3 separate regions of the Homo sapiens genome follow, and all the other regions are linked to region 3. Evidence: promoter capture Hi-C in 16 types of primary human blood cells and fetal thymus (Javierre and others, 2016). All regions are on one chromosome and are shown on one strand. Each heading gives the region's core, a stretch centred on a gene start or on the middle of the fragment in contact. The rest is flanking DNA. Distances are from core to core; before and after follow the strand shown.

Region 1 (4,777 bases), core at 1,926-4,425, 410 kb after region 3:
TCCATGTAGCACAGTTAGGGTGGCTCTAACAGCAAGGGTCTGACTGCAGCAGCTCCAAATAAGTGACATGTCTGGGGCTTCAGTTCTCTTCTAGTTGGCCTCACCTCATGAGTAGCTTGGGCTTCCTCACAGTATGGCAGTCTCAGGGTAATCAGATTTACATGGTGGCTGTCTTTCCCAAGAGTATAGAAGCAAAAACGGCCAGGACTCTTTAAGGTTTAGGCCTGGAATTAGCAACAACACATTCTCTTCATTAAAGCAAGTCACAGGTCCAGCCTAGATTTAGGGGAAGGAACTACACAGGGGCATAAATACTGGGAAGTGGGATTCACTGGGGGCCATCCACACAGTCTACCGGAGAGTAGGTGGTCTCTTGCAGAGAGAGTGGAGTTATAGAAAAGGACTGAGACGTGTCCCTTGGGTTTAGGATCCTGGCGGTCACAGTTGGGTCTGGCAGGAACTGTCTTGGTGAAGTGACAGCAGAGGTGAGACTTGGGTGGCTCACGAAGGGACTAAGAAATATGTGCAGGGGAGCAGAAGCACATACTTACAAGAACATTCATGGCTGCATTTGGAAGAATGAAAAGTTTTTGACAACTCAAACATCCATCACTAGGGTACAAGGTAACAGTGGTGTGGACTTCTCATTGAGCTCTCTGCAACTGGTCAAAGCCCAGCGAGTAAGGGCCTCTCTTGCTGACAGGAAAGAGACCCTGAGACGCTGCTGAATGAGCAAAGCAACTGCAAAACATTCATAGGCCATGGTCCTGTTTCTTACAGTGTGAAAAAGTCTATTCAGGCCTGTGTCACTGTGTATCTGCAGGTGCATAGAGAAAGATCTGGAAGGGTACACTGTCAAGGACTATTTCCCTGAGGAATGGAGAATTTTGCTTTTCATTTTGTACATTTTTAGGTTGTTTGATTTTACAAAAAATGAGCATGTGCTACTTTTTGTATTTTTCAAAAAGGTGATGTATTTTAAAAGTGAATGACAGATGAGGAAACAGCATGTGTAGGCAACTGTATGGAGAAGCTTTATCAGAAGGAGTGGAGAGAGAAGACAGCAGCCAGAGGGTGTGGAGTTGGGGAGACTCGATGCGGCCGAGGACCACCTACATCTGAATCTCTTGGGTGCTATTCAAAATGTAGACTCCTTGGGGTTTCCTGAGCCTGAGTCAGAACCTTTCTGTACTAGGCAACAGCTGGGCCGACTGGACCCTGAAGGAAAGGAGAGAGGAGGGTGCAGGAGTTGGAGAGGGATGAGGGGGGAGGAGGGCACTCCCCATTTGTAGTGTAGCGGGACCTAATGAGCGACCCTACAGAGAAGCCAGTGCAGGCCCTCACTCATGACAAGCTCTCGCTCCATGGTTCTCTCTCCTCTTCCCACATCCCCATAACTGTGGCTGCTTAAACTTGCAAGCGGATTTAGAGCTACCCTGGCAGTCACTGACACCTGCCTCTCTTGAAAGGGCTGCTAGGTCCCACCACCACCCCCCCCCCCCGCCGTAGAATGGGTAGAAGAAGGGGCTGTAGAAGTGACCTCTAGACTGTGCTGACCAGTAGAACTTTCTGATGATGGAAATGTTCTGTGTCTGCATTGTCCCCTCTGGGAACCTGTGGCTTAGAATGTGACCACTGGGACTCAGAGACTGCCTAAATTTTAAGATATATTTTATTTGAATGAATTTAAATGTGAACTTAAATAGCCCCATGAGGCTAGTGGCTACCTCATTGGACAGCACAGCCCTGGACGCATGGAGAAGATCCTGTGTGTCAGGCTAAACTCCATCCTCAGTGGGCACAGTCCTGGACCCATGGAGAAGACCCTGTGTGTCAGGCTAAACTCCATCCTCAATGGGCACAGCCCTAGATGCATGGAGAAGACCCTGTGTGTCAGGCTAAACTCCATCCTCAGTGGGCACAGCCCTGGACCCATGGAGAAGACCCTGTGTGTCAGGCTAAACTCCATCCTCAGTGGGCGCAGCCCTGGACCCATGGAGAAGACCTTGTGTGTCAGGCTAAACTCCATCCTCAATGGGCACAGCCCTGGACCCATGGAGAAGACCCTGTGTGTCAGGCTAAACTCCATCCTCAGTGGGCACAGCCCTGGATGCATGGAGAAGACCCTGTGTGTCAGGCTAAACTCCATCCTCAGTGGGCAAGCCCTGGATGCATGGAGAAGACCCTGTGTGTCAGGCTAAACTCCATCCTCAGTGGGCACAGCCCTGGATGCATGGAGAAGACCCTGTGTGTCAGGCTAAGCTCCATCCTCAGTGGGCACAGCCCTGGATGCATGGAGAAGACCCTGTGTGTCAGGCTAAACTCCATCCTCAGTGGGCACAGCCCTGGATTCATGGAGAAGACCCTGTGTGTCAGGCTAAACTCCATCCTCAGTGGGCACAGCCCTGGATGCATGGAGAAGACCCTGTGTGTCAGGCTAAACTCCATCCTCAGTGGGCACAGCCCTGGATGCATGGAGAAGACCCTGTGTGTCAGGCTAAACTCCATCCTCAGTGGGCAGGGAGGCGTCAAAGGAGTGCAAAGGAGTGATTCACAGCAGGTGGTCATGGAAAGAAAGCTCTCCCCCACAGGAAGTACTGGTTAACCGTCTTTGGGGCCTGTCCAGAGCCCCCTTCCTTGTAACATAGCTGTGTTCAGGCTTGGTTAGCCCTGGCTGGCCGCAGCCATGGCCATGGTGGGGAATGATCATGGTCTTCCTTCTAGATGGTTGGATCAGAGCACCTTCTTGTGATGTCACAAATCGGGGCCTTTCTAGCCTTCTTAACCTTGGAGGTTCTGCTCAGCAGCTGCTACTGGCGTCTCGTCCTCTTGGCTCTGGGTCTGGGGCACTGGAAGGTAAACTCCCTGCTGAGTTGGAGGCAGCAGCATTGAGTGGGTGGCTGTTTTCCAGCCAGGATTTACCCAGGGCTTTATGGCTTGCAAAGCCTTCCTCACAGGGCTTTGTCAGGCATTTAATATTCACAAAAATGTGGCCAGGATCAAAATTATTATTATGGGGAAACTGAGGCCAGACTGTAAAGTCCACAGGTCAGGTTCTTTGTGGCTCACTCTTGTATCCCTGGGCCTTTTGCACTGATTGGCACATGGCAGATCCTCAAGAACATTTTCCAGGTGGATGAGGTTCAGAGGGGCCATGCAGCTTGGCCAGAGGGCACACAGCCAGAGAGGCAGGGATTCTGTTCTGTTCTGTCCAAGTCCCCACCTCTTTTATGGAGCCAGGCTGTTCTGTGTCTTTGAAGAGAGCCTCTGCCCTTCAGAAAGGGTCCTCACCTTTTTCCTTTCTGTAAATTAAGTCGTACGCATGGTTAAAAAAAAAAGAAAAGAAAATCCAAAATAGTACTGAAGGTATGCAGTACACAGGAAGCCTCCGCCCACCTCCACCTCCCAGCTTCCCCCTTTGGAGGTATCTGCTGTAGTGGGCTCCTCAAGATACTTCTAGCCATGCTCTGTTTGTGCATGCTTATCCCTGCACAGACAGCAGAAGCTGTCTTGGCCAACAAGACCAGGAAGCATTGGTATTTGCAGGTTAATTGAAAAATTCATTTAAGGTGGAGAACCATAAAAAAGTGATATAGAGGCTGGGTGTGGTGGCTCATGCCTGTAATCCCAGCACTTTGGGAGGCCAAGGTGGGCGGATCACAAGGTCAGGAGATCGAGACTATCCTGGCTAACATGGTGAAACCCCGTGTTTCCTTCACTAAAAATACAAAAAATTACCCAGGTGTGGGCCTGTAGTCCCAGCTACTCAGGAGGCCGAGGCAGGAGAATGGTGTGAACACGGGAGGCAGAGCTTGCAGTGAGCTGAGATTGCACCACTGCACTCCAGTCTGGGCAACAGAGTGAGACTCCGTCTCAAAAAAAAAAAAAAGGTGATATAGAAGCCAGGTGCAGTGGCTCATGCTTGTAATCACAGCACTTTGGGAGGCCAGAGTGGGAGGATTGCTTGAGCCCAGGAGTTTGAGACCAGCCTGGGCAATGTAGCAGGACCCCATCTCTTAAAATAACAACAGTAACAACAAAAAACTAGCCAGGTTTGTGATGTGTGCCTGTAGTCCCAGCTACTTAGGAGGCTGAGGCGGGAGGATGGTTTGGGGCCAGGAGTTCGAGGCTGCAGTGAGCCATGTTTGCACCACTGCACTTCAGCCTGAGCGACAGAGCGAGACCATGTCTCTCAGCAACTACAATGAAAAGTGATACAGACCTTAACTTAAGATTTTCTTTTAACTTAAGATTCATGTATACATCTGTCTCCGCACCTTGCTTTCTTAATACATAACTTTTTAAACTTATCTTGGAAATCATTTCATATCAGAATGTATAATCTTATTGTTCTTCATGGCTATCAAGCCTTCTGTTATAAGGATAGACCATCATTGCATTGATTCCTTACTACTGGGCATTTAGATCATTTGTGGGCTTCTGCCTGTGGTCGACTTTAGAGCAACAGTGTGCATTTCTGCTTCCACCCCTTGCCCTGTGCCCCCGACACACACTGCACATCCTGATATGATCACCAGGTGTGGCTCTGCTATTTTTCTGGCAAAGCTGGAGTTTTTCCTTCTGGCTGGTGTCTACAAAATCGAGGAGGAAAGCAGCTTCAGGGGGAGCTTGTGGTTAAGTAGGTGTGAACTTTCTCTGTGGATCCGTTGGGACCTTTTGGATTTCAAGCCCTTGTCAACTGTTTCATACAGTCAAGTTCTTGGCTTGTGTAACCAGGGAGTGGACTTCAGTTACAGCTGGATCCACCAGCCCAAAC
Region 2 (4,500 bases), core at 1,830-4,329, 490 kb after region 3:
GATTGTGATTTGGTCCAGAAATTCCTGGCCAGAATATTTCCAGTGTGGTGCATGTGAACTTCCCGCCTTCCCTTCCTTCCCTCCTCCCTCCTTTCTTCACTGGGGAGAAAGAATTTGGCATTCGAGTATCTCACCCCGTCTTGCTAAGCAGTTTAGTTAGACTGCAGGCCAGTCTCTGTGGTGTGACCACCCCCCAGTGGCAAGGAGCTGCCAAAACTGAGCTTCTGGGCAAGACGTGGGCAGAGCAAAGAGAGACCCACACTTGGCACTTCCTGCCCAGAAAGGACCTGCTCAGGCCTGGCTGGCCTTTACCACCGTCATCTCCAGGCTTTCTGTTCATCCGTACTTTCAAAGATTTAGTGATCAAGTACTATGTGTCAGGAACCATGCTCAGCACTCGATAAAACAGACATCATCTCTACCTACCTTTGTGGAGCTTTAATCTAGTGTGGGGGACGGGGGGACTGCTTCCACCCAGAAACGACATTTTTATCCACTGCGATAACTTCTGGGGAGACATGGGAGGGAATAACAGAGGGGACATGATGGAGATGGGGGACTGCAGAGGGACTCTCCAGGAAGCCACATTTAGGGGGTGACCTCAAGGGTGAGGAAGAATTAGCCAGGTGGAAAGTTAGAGGGAGCAGCTGGTACAAGGGCCTCAAGGGTGGATGGAGGGTGAACGCTTGATGAACTGGTGCAGGCCTGTATGGCCGGGTACAGCTGGCAACGAGGAGGCCCGGTATGGGCAGAATCTGGGGGCCTGAATGGTGGAGAGTCTGCTTGTCACCCCAAGAGACACATCAGGAAGCTAGGTGGTCAGTCGGGAGAGAGAGGATGTGACACTCTAGCCACCACCACGCAGAGAAGGGATTGGAAACAGTAGCCCGGAGAGGAGGCTCTCTTGGTAGGATCCCACGGCAACCGAATGGATGCACGTTGTTTATGACGTTCTTACCCATGAAAGCGCTCAAGGATCCGCTTGCTTGCTTACATGTGGGATCAGCACTACCTTCCGTGCTGCCGAACATCTTCTTAAGCGAGGGAAAGAACAAAAAGAAAAGTTGGCAAGAAAGAAAGGGCAAAGACAGAGAGACTGGGAGAGAAAGAGGCCCCAATTTCCTCTCTCTGGTAGTTGCTGAATTGGCTCTCGTGAAGGCAGAAAGGGAAGGGCTGACTTATGTCCCTCTGCCAGGAGAGGGGAAAGGAGGGAGGCATGATATTGACTTAAACGTGGGGGATTTAAAAGGCCCCTATGTTCCCACTTTGTGCTTTGCTTCTAACAGACAGCCTGGGACCTTTGAAGTCGGTCTGGCCCAGTGGGGAGCGGGCTTCTGTGGAGACAAGATGCTAACGGGGGCGGGGGAAGGGGGCCAGGGGGCGGCCGAAACTCTATTAGGCATGCTCTAGCAAAAAGAAAGGCAAATCCAATGATAATGTACATCTGTTTCAGGGAATTTATAAGCTTTGAACATTTTTTATGGGCAGATAAGTGGGTCCTTTTCTTACCATAACTTAGAACTTCAAAGCTGAGTGTGTGGATAATGCAAATTGCTGAAATATGAGATTTTCCCTACAAAGAGGTTTCCAAAAAAGACGAGGAAGAAAAAGAGGGGGGGGGGAGAGAGAACGAAGGCTAACTGATGCCACAGTCTTTTATGTACATGGCAAAAACGGGACAGAAATTGATTTTTATGAAAGAAGAAATTGATGGGAGACATGGCGTGGGGAGGAGGCGGCCTTGTGGCAGGTGCTGGGAGGCAGGGACTGGGGCCGGGCGGGTCCACCCAGGCTGTGGGTCAGCCCTGCAGGGTTGAGCTGCCTGGCTGTGGCTCAGGCCCTGGGGACACAGTGCCCTCCCTCTAGGAGCCTTAATGGGGAAAACAAGAACACTGTCACTCGTAATGGGCATGAAAGGACACTTCAGAGCCAGCCAAGGCAGTGTCAGCCCAGAACAACACCCTGGAACACCCAAGGGGGCTCCAAGGCAGGATGGGACCCCCTGGTTTGGGAAAATCAGAAAAGGCCTCCTGGAGGAGAGGGGCTCTAGGGGGCAGGTATGATCCTGAAGGGAAGACAGTGGGGTGGGACATTTCAGATGGCAAAACAGCTGGGTCAGGATATCCCCAGGGTCATGCCTCTGCCACCCAGACCCCACCACATTCAGCCCTCTGTGCTTTTCTTGTCTCCCACATCCCCAGCCCCAGTAACTAGCAGGGACACAGTCAACATTCAATATGTGCATGTTGAATGAATGAATGAATGAATGTGAGATCGTGAGAACACACAGCTGGTTGGCAAGCAGCATCAACCAGCTCTTTCTTTTCACTATATTACATATCTACAGTGGTAGAGTCATACTAGAAGACATGATGGGATGGTGGTGTGGTCTCTGTAGTTGACCCCATCATCCTTTCTGTCCATAGGTGATTCGTCTAAGCCAGACATGGCAAAGTCCTCACCTTTGCCAGTGACTGATTCAGGAAAGATCATGTGTGACCTTATTCTGGGCAATGAGATCTGAAGGGAAGTCTGTTGAGGAACTTGTAACATGTCATGGTAGTGGCCATCTTGCTACAGCCTGAGGACCACAGAGCACACACAGAGAGTGCTGGGTCCTTGGGAATGATGTTGAGCAAGCACTTATACATGACCTGGCAGCCACCCAGCATCTGTACTTTAGTTATTTGGTTTTTCTCAGGAGGAGATCCTGAGATGAAGACTCAGGAGCAGGTTGTTGATTTTGAGGTGGTCCTGGGAAAGACAGGGAGGAGAGTGGGGAAGTGAGGCAGAAAAGGAAGGGAAGTTCCACTCCAGGAGCCCACGTGGAACATACCTCAGAGTTATCCCACCTGCACAGGGAGGGAGCTGAGGTATTTACCCACCCATCCTTGTCAGTCATTGGTCAAGGGCTATTTCTGTGCATAGGCATAGGCTTCAGCAGAATTGCAGGTACTGGCAGTCGGAAATTGGACCAGCAAACAGAAATGATTCCTACAGGGGATACAAGCCAGGCACAGGCAGTGTCTGTTACTTGGGGTTCCTGTTGCTTAGAGTTGAAAGCATCATAACCCATCCCAGGTGATCATAGAAGGACCTCAAAGGAAAAGGTGAGGGGTTTGGACATTTCCTGAGAATCCATGGGGGAACCATTCAGGGTTTGGGGCAGGTGTCAACCACAAGAACATTAAACAGGCTCTTTTGGCAGCAAAGTTGGGAGTGGTGTTGAAGTAACTGGGAAAACTCCACAGAGGCTCAGCGTCCACCTCTACCTGACACCCTGCCAGCAACCTGGGTGATTTCCGCAGGTGTCTGAACCCCGATCTCTCAGTGTTATGGCCCCCACCACCAGGAAGGCCTCCTTTTCTCTCTTCTATAGCCACTCACTCCTGGGCCCCACTGTGAACCCAGAAATGCCACACCATGGAAGCCACACACTCTGCTGTCTCCTTCTGTCCTCATTCCTGTCCTTCTCACAGTCAGTCCCTCTTGGCTCTTCCTAGAGTCCCTTTCATTCCCTCATTTCCACTTCCTGCCGCTGTACTGTCACCTGTGGCCTGGATTTGCACTCTTGGTCCAACACCCTCAACTCCAACACCTCTGTCTTTCTGCCCCATCCACTAGACAAAAGCTGACTCTGGAAAACATTAGGCACTCAGAATCAAGGGTTCTGGGGTCAGATGGATAATTGCCATCATCCTCACCAAGTTGCCACTGGACTTTCTTGCCCCTAAATCCACTGGGCATTTCATTGCTACCTTTCTTGACTTCTTGATTGTTTTTGTGATACTGACACATCCCCCCTTTCAGAACACCCTCTGCCCTTGGATTCTGTGCACAGGAAGCTAGTTGCTCCCCTGAATACACTCTTTCTTCCTTGTAATACAGCCTCTGATTTTGAGCCCAAGAATAAAGACTACAGTTCTCAGACTCCTTCGCAAATAAATTTTGTGACTAAACTCTAGTCAACAGTAAGTGTCATGTAGCAGCTCCTGGGAATCTCCTTTAAAAAGAGAGCTTGTTTATACCTATTGTCATCTCTGTTCTTCTGTGCCCCTTCTTCCATTTTGCTGCCTGGAAAGCAGATGTGATGGCTGGAATTCCAGTCACCATTTTGGACCATGAGGACAACACCCTAGAGATGTGGAGTGGCTAAAAGAAGCCTGTGTTCCTGAGAACTTAGAGGACCAGGACCTCTATTCCAGGCTTGGACACCTACATTTAGACTATTATATGAGGAAGCAATCAACTTCTCACTTGTTTCAACCACTTTCACTTGCAGTCAAACCTGAATTGTAAGTGAAATTGCTTTCCTGATAGCAAACCTGTTGGATTTTCTCCAGAATCCCTGGGCCACTTTTAGCAGTCAGATTCGTCTAATCCTCCTTTAAAGATGGTGGCAGTGAAACTGGTACATGGGACCTGACTGGGCTTTGTTTGCAACTTTCTGATAATTTATAATTATTTCAAAATAAAAAAATTTTAAAAATAGTGGCGTTG
Region 3 (5,150 bases), core at 2,165-4,664:
CGATCTGCCTGCCTCAGCCTCCCGAATTGCTGGGATTACAGGCGTGAGCCACCACACTTGGCCTGAAAGCATGGATCTTAAGTACCCAGCATCCTGAGAAGACAGAGTTTACAAAAGTATGTAAATCAAATGTATCTCTGATACTTTGCTGAAGAAAGCCTTTTACTTAACATACTTAGGATATTACTATGGTGTAACTGATGAATTAGCATCTGATAATAGTTTGGATATCTGTCTCCTCCAAATTTCATGTTGAATATTTTTTTCTTTTTTATTACCTTGATCCTACGTTAAAGGAAAAGGCCCAGCTCATTTTTAAATTTTTTGTAGAGACAGAGGTCTCACCATGTTGCCTAGGCTGTTCTCAAACTCCTGGCTTCAAGTAATCCTCTCACCTCAGTCTTCCAAAGTGCTGGGATTACAGGCATGAGCCACTGCATCCTGCTGAGAGAGAGAGAGAGATAGATATATATATATATAATTTTTTTTTTTTGAGACAGAGTCTCACTGTGTCACCTAGGCTGGAGTGCAATGACGCGATCTCGGCGCACCAAAACCTCTGCCTCCAAGGTTCAAATGATTCTCCTGCCTCAGCCTTCCAAGTAGCTGGGATTACAGGCATGTGCCACCACACCCGGCTAATTTTTTGTATTTTTAGTAGAGACGGGGTTTCACCACATTGGCCAGGCTGGTCTCGGGAACTCCTGAGCTCATGATCTGCCCGCGTCAGCCTCCCAAAATGTTGGGATTACAGGTGTGAGTCACCACGCCCGGCCAGAGATTCAATTTTTAAAACAAATATGAGGTCAGCAAACAAAATCTATTTCTATACAATGTTTTATTTTTGTCAGTGTAAATAACACAAAAAATACGGCTACTTATTTTCCTGGCTATGTAATAATTAGTACATAGCAAATTTCATTCAGGGAAAACTTTTTTTTTTTTTTTTTTTTGAGATGGAGTCTCGCTCTGTCACCCAGGCTGGAGTGCAATGGCGAGATCTCGGCTCACCACAACCTCCACCTCCTGGGTTCATGTGATTCTCCTGCCTCAACCTCCTAAGTAGCTGGGATTACAGGCATGCGCCACCACACCCGGCTAATTTTGTATTTTTAGTAGAGATGGGGTTTTTCCGTGTTGGTCAGGCTGGTCTCGAACTCCCGACCTCAGGTGATCTGCCTGCCTTGACTTCCCAAAACGCTGGGATTACAAGTGTGAGCAACCGCCCCCGGACAGAGAAAACTTTTAATACTGATTTCTAGTAAAGCAACAGCAACAATCAAATTGAATGAATCAAAATTCCGAAGGGTTTTTTTTGTTTGTTTTTGGTGGACAGGAAGTAGGATTTACTGGGGAGTATTAAGAGGGGGCAGCACAGTGGAAGCCCTCACGAGGGCAGGGCACGCCACTTGTCCAGAGGGCCATGATGGGGATGTACTTGACCCCACAGTCATCTGCGATGAGCCGCTTTTCAGCCACCATGTCTTCAAATTCATCCGCAGTGAACTTGGTGAAGCCCCACTTCTTTGAAATGTGGATCTTCTGGCAGCCAGGGAACTTGAACTTGGCCCTGAGCAGGGATTCAATCACATGCTCCTTATTCTGCAGCTTGTTGCAGATGGACATGATAACTTGGCCAATGTGAACCCTGGCCACAGTGCCCTGGAGCTTTTCAAAGGCACCTCGAATATCTGCCTGGAGCCTACATTGGCGTAGTGCAAGGTCAAAGACATGAACATACATCTGAAAGGCCTGTCTCCATGGTCCCTTAGAGCAGCCCATACAAGAAACAGGCTGCATAAACTACCAAGGAAGCTGTTGTTTGCAGCTGAAGGGTCTTTGTGTGTTTTCCGTATTTCTGGTCGTGCTATTTATTCTCTTACCAAAAAAAAAAAAAAAAGTAAGGTCAGGCGTGGTGGCTCACCCCCTTGTAATCCCAGCAGTTTTGGAGTCTGAGGTAGGAGGATCGCTTAAGTCCAGGAGTTCCAGACCAGCCTGGGCAGCGCAGAGCAACTTCGTCTCTATGCCATGTTGACGCGTGCCTATAGTCCTAGCTACTCGGAGGCTGGGGCAAGAGGATCGCTTGAACCCAAGAGGCCGAGCCTGCAGTGAGCTGTGAATGAGTCACTGAACTCCAGATGACAGAGCAAGAGTTAGTCTCGAAAGAAAGAAAAAGGTAGAGCGACACTTAGTTCTTTGATAGTTTTCCACTATTTGTCATAAAAACTTTCCAGGATATTGAGCTCCCAAAATGGAAGGCCAATATCAGGCATCAGGGACTTGTTCTGGACGTTGGACCAACCTTAAAGGGCCCACATAGAAGCTGTTCACTTACTTTCTTTTAGTCTCTTGATTTAAAATACTTAACATTCCCCTTTCCTTGGCTTTTTAACCACTGAGATTTGAAAGACATGCAAATAACGACCTAGTGGACAATCTTTGCTGATGCTAAATCTTCATTTTAGGATTAAAAGGTTTTGGGTTTTCTTAAAATTTAATGCTGAACTCAGAAGAGCTTTCTAAGGCTGTTGGTGCACCTTAGGGCAGGAGAGCGTCTTTGCTACGCCGCGCAGGAGTGTGTCTGCTTCTCTGTGCATCTACACGTGTTTGCGTGTCCCTGTAAAGTGGGTTGAGTGTGCGGCTGCGGCTTTCCGCCCTTGGCTCACACTCTCAGTCTTAGTGGTCTCCCCCAGGGCTATGCATGGGGTACAGGTTTCTGTGGCCTCAGGCCGGGGTGAGGGGTCCCCCACCCCGGCCAGGGCGCAGCAGGGCGGGGCACACGTAGCCGTGCAGGGTCTCGCGCAGCCCGCGTCAGGACCCCGGGGCACACGCTCGGGCAGGGGGCGTGTCCCCACGCCACCAGAAAAAGTGTTATAGGCTGTTTTTTTTTTTTTTTTTTTTTTTAAAAAGAAAGTGTTTTAGAAAGCAGGCAGAAGCCAAGACGTCAGGAAGGGTTGCGAGGGCCCGGGATCCGGCGGCCACAGGGATGGGAGGGGCGAGGAGCGAGGGGCGGAGTGGCACCTCCCACAACGCGCTCCCTGCGGGGCGGGCGGCAACCTCCATGCGGCCTCGTCCACGCTCAGCACCGGGGAAGCCGAGGCGGAGAAGCCGCGCGCGCCTCAGAAGCTCCCGGACGCCCAGGTACGTGGGAGCACTCCACAGATGGCGCAAGTACGGTTGGGCCAGGCGGTTGCGGCCCCGTCGCGCCGCGGCCTCTGTGACGCACGGCGAGGCCTCCCGGGCTGCTGCGCGGCGCAGCGGGGGCGGGGCGAGCGCGTGAGGGCGGGGCGGTGGGGGGGGGGGGCGGAGCGAGAGGGGCGGAGCCGGCAGAGGCCCCGCCCCGGGGCCGGAGGAGCGAGGACGCTACGGAGCAGGCGCGTCTCGCTGCCGCCGCTGCCGCCGCCGCCGCTCGCTCTTCTGTGGAGCCGCCGCCGCCGCCGCCGCCATTTGCACGGGGACCCCAGTGACAGGGGCTCGGCGGAGGGGCGGAGGGGCGGAGGGAGGGGGGGAGGGCCCGCGGAGCCCCCGAGGGCGGGAGCGACGCCGCCGGCGCCGGCCGGGCTCCCTGCGCGACCGCGCCGCCCGCGGCGGGCCCCGAGCAGCAGCAGCAGCAGCAGCGGCAGCAGCGGCAGCAGCAGCAGCAGCCGAGGCCGGGCGTGCGCCTGAGGCGGCGGCGGCGGCGGCCCTGCGGGCGGCCGGGAGGGGCGGGGGCAGCGGCCGCCGCCGTTTGATGGATCCGAGGATCGCCTGGTTTCAGCCAGAGCAGCTCGGACCGTCCAACAGTCTGTGGATGCAGATCTGGGAGACGACCCAGGGGCTGAGGAACCTCTACTTCAACCACCACTGTCACAGCAGCGGCGGCGCGAGCGGCGGCGGCGGCAGCAGCAGCAGCAGCAGCACGGCCACCGGCGGGAGCGGCAGCAGCACCGGCAGCCCCGGCGGCGCGGCCTCGGCCCCGGCCCCGGCCCCGGCCGGCATGTATCGCTCCGGGGAGCGCCTGCTGGGCAGCCACGCGCTGCCCGCGGAGCAGCGGGACTTCCTGCCCCTAGAGACGACCAACAACAACAACAACCACCACCAGCCCGGGGCCTGGGCCCGCCGGGCGGGCTCCTCGGCGTCCTCGCCTCCCTCGGCGTCCTCGTCCCCGCACCCTTCGGCCGCCGTCCCCGCCGCCGATCCAGCCGATTCGGCCTCGGGCAGCAGCAACAAGAGGAAGCGCGACAACAAGGCCAGCACGTATGGACTCAACTACAGCCTGCTGCAGCCCAGCGGAGGGCGGGCCGCGGGGGGCGGCCGAGCAGACGGCGGCGGGGTCGTGTACAGCGGGACCCCGTGGAAACGGAGGAACTACAACCAGGGAGTCGTGGGGTGAGTGCTGGCTCTGCGGCCCGATGGCCTGGCCGGTGCGAATGCGCAGCCGGGCACACGCCCACAGAGGGGGGTTGTGAGGGTCTAGGAGCGGCCACCCCCACGGCCTGCCTTCGCTGCTGTTGCACGGGGGTGCTGCTGGCCATCCCCAACCCCCCAGTCGTTCACACCTTTCCCCAAGCCTCCTTAGCCGTCCACACCCTCCGTCTCCTGTCCTCCCTTAGTCGTCCACACCTTCCTCCCCTCCCTCTTAACCGTCCACACCTTCCCCAGGCCCCCCCCTTTATCCATTCACTCTCCTCCCATCCCCCTTAGTTAAACACATCTACCCTTGACCACCACCCCGCCTCCAGCCCTCCACACCTTTTTCCCCATCATCACAACTCAAGATGAGACCGCTTAGCACGGGCCTATCATTCATTCCCTGAGAACATTGGTGTGTGAGTGTTTTTTGATGGTGCAGGACCCGGAGGTGCTTTCCTTGCCAAGAATAGAAACATCCAGAATGCTCCTCCCCATCCCCCAATCCCAGACAGCAATTATGTCAGCCCTGTAAGGCATTGCCTGCTCTTGACCCTTTGGCCCATCTTTTTATTTTTAAAAAATTCCCATGTCACAGATGCCCTGTCTATGCAGAGGGTGGCGTGGGATGGGTGACCACTAAGTTTAGGCTGGTGAAGGTGGTGAGCCCTTCTGAGGCCCTGATAGAACTTTCCAGGAGTTCATGGTCCGCGGCTCCAGCTTCTCACTGTAAAGTTGTCATCCTGGCAGAGGCAGCCAAT

Evidence for each region. Contacts are between HindIII fragments. The CHiCAGO score rates a contact against its expected background, and 5 or more counts as called.
Region 1: a contact is called between a fragment that was not itself captured here and the fragment with the promoter of TENT4B in region 3, in 1 of 17 cell types (naive B cells). The highest score is 6.7, in naive B cells.
Region 2: a contact is called between a fragment that was not itself captured here and the fragment with the promoter of TENT4B in region 3, in 4 of 17 cell types (total B cells, neutrophils, total CD8 T cells and 1 more). The highest score is 6.5, in total B cells.

Annotation. Positions count from the first base shown.
Region 1 is chr16:50,561,497-50,566,273 of GRCh38, forward strand. All of the region lies in intron 3 of NKD1 (NKD inhibitor of Wnt signaling pathway 1), which reads left to right. Among named protein-coding and RNA genes, the nearest start is that of NKD1, 15 kb to the left of the region's middle. The HindIII fragment of the contact is 4,288 bases long and covers 1,032-4,777 here.
Region 2 is chr16:50,644,759-50,649,258 of GRCh38, forward strand. It overlaps NKD1 (NKD inhibitor of Wnt signaling pathway 1), which reads left to right. Exons shown (of 10, transcript NM_033119.5): 10 at 1-4,491. Among named protein-coding and RNA genes, the nearest start is that of NKD1-AS1, 33 kb to the left of the region's middle. RefSeq lists an enhancer at 1,804-2,322. The HindIII fragment of the contact is 3,232 bases long and covers 1,464-4,500 here.
Region 3 is chr16:50,149,892-50,155,041 of GRCh38, forward strand. It overlaps TENT4B (terminal nucleotidyltransferase 4B), which reads left to right and starts at 3,415. Exons shown (of 12, transcript NM_001365324.3): 1 at 3,415-4,368. The coding sequence starts at 3,731. It also overlaps the pseudogene RPL10P14 and the pseudogene LOC124900375. RefSeq lists enhancers at 2,471-3,428, 5,066-5,115 and silencers at 2,655-2,744, 2,965-3,134, 3,245-3,404, 3,635-3,734, 3,915-3,964 and 1 more. The HindIII fragment of the contact is 13,709 bases long and covers 1-5,150 here.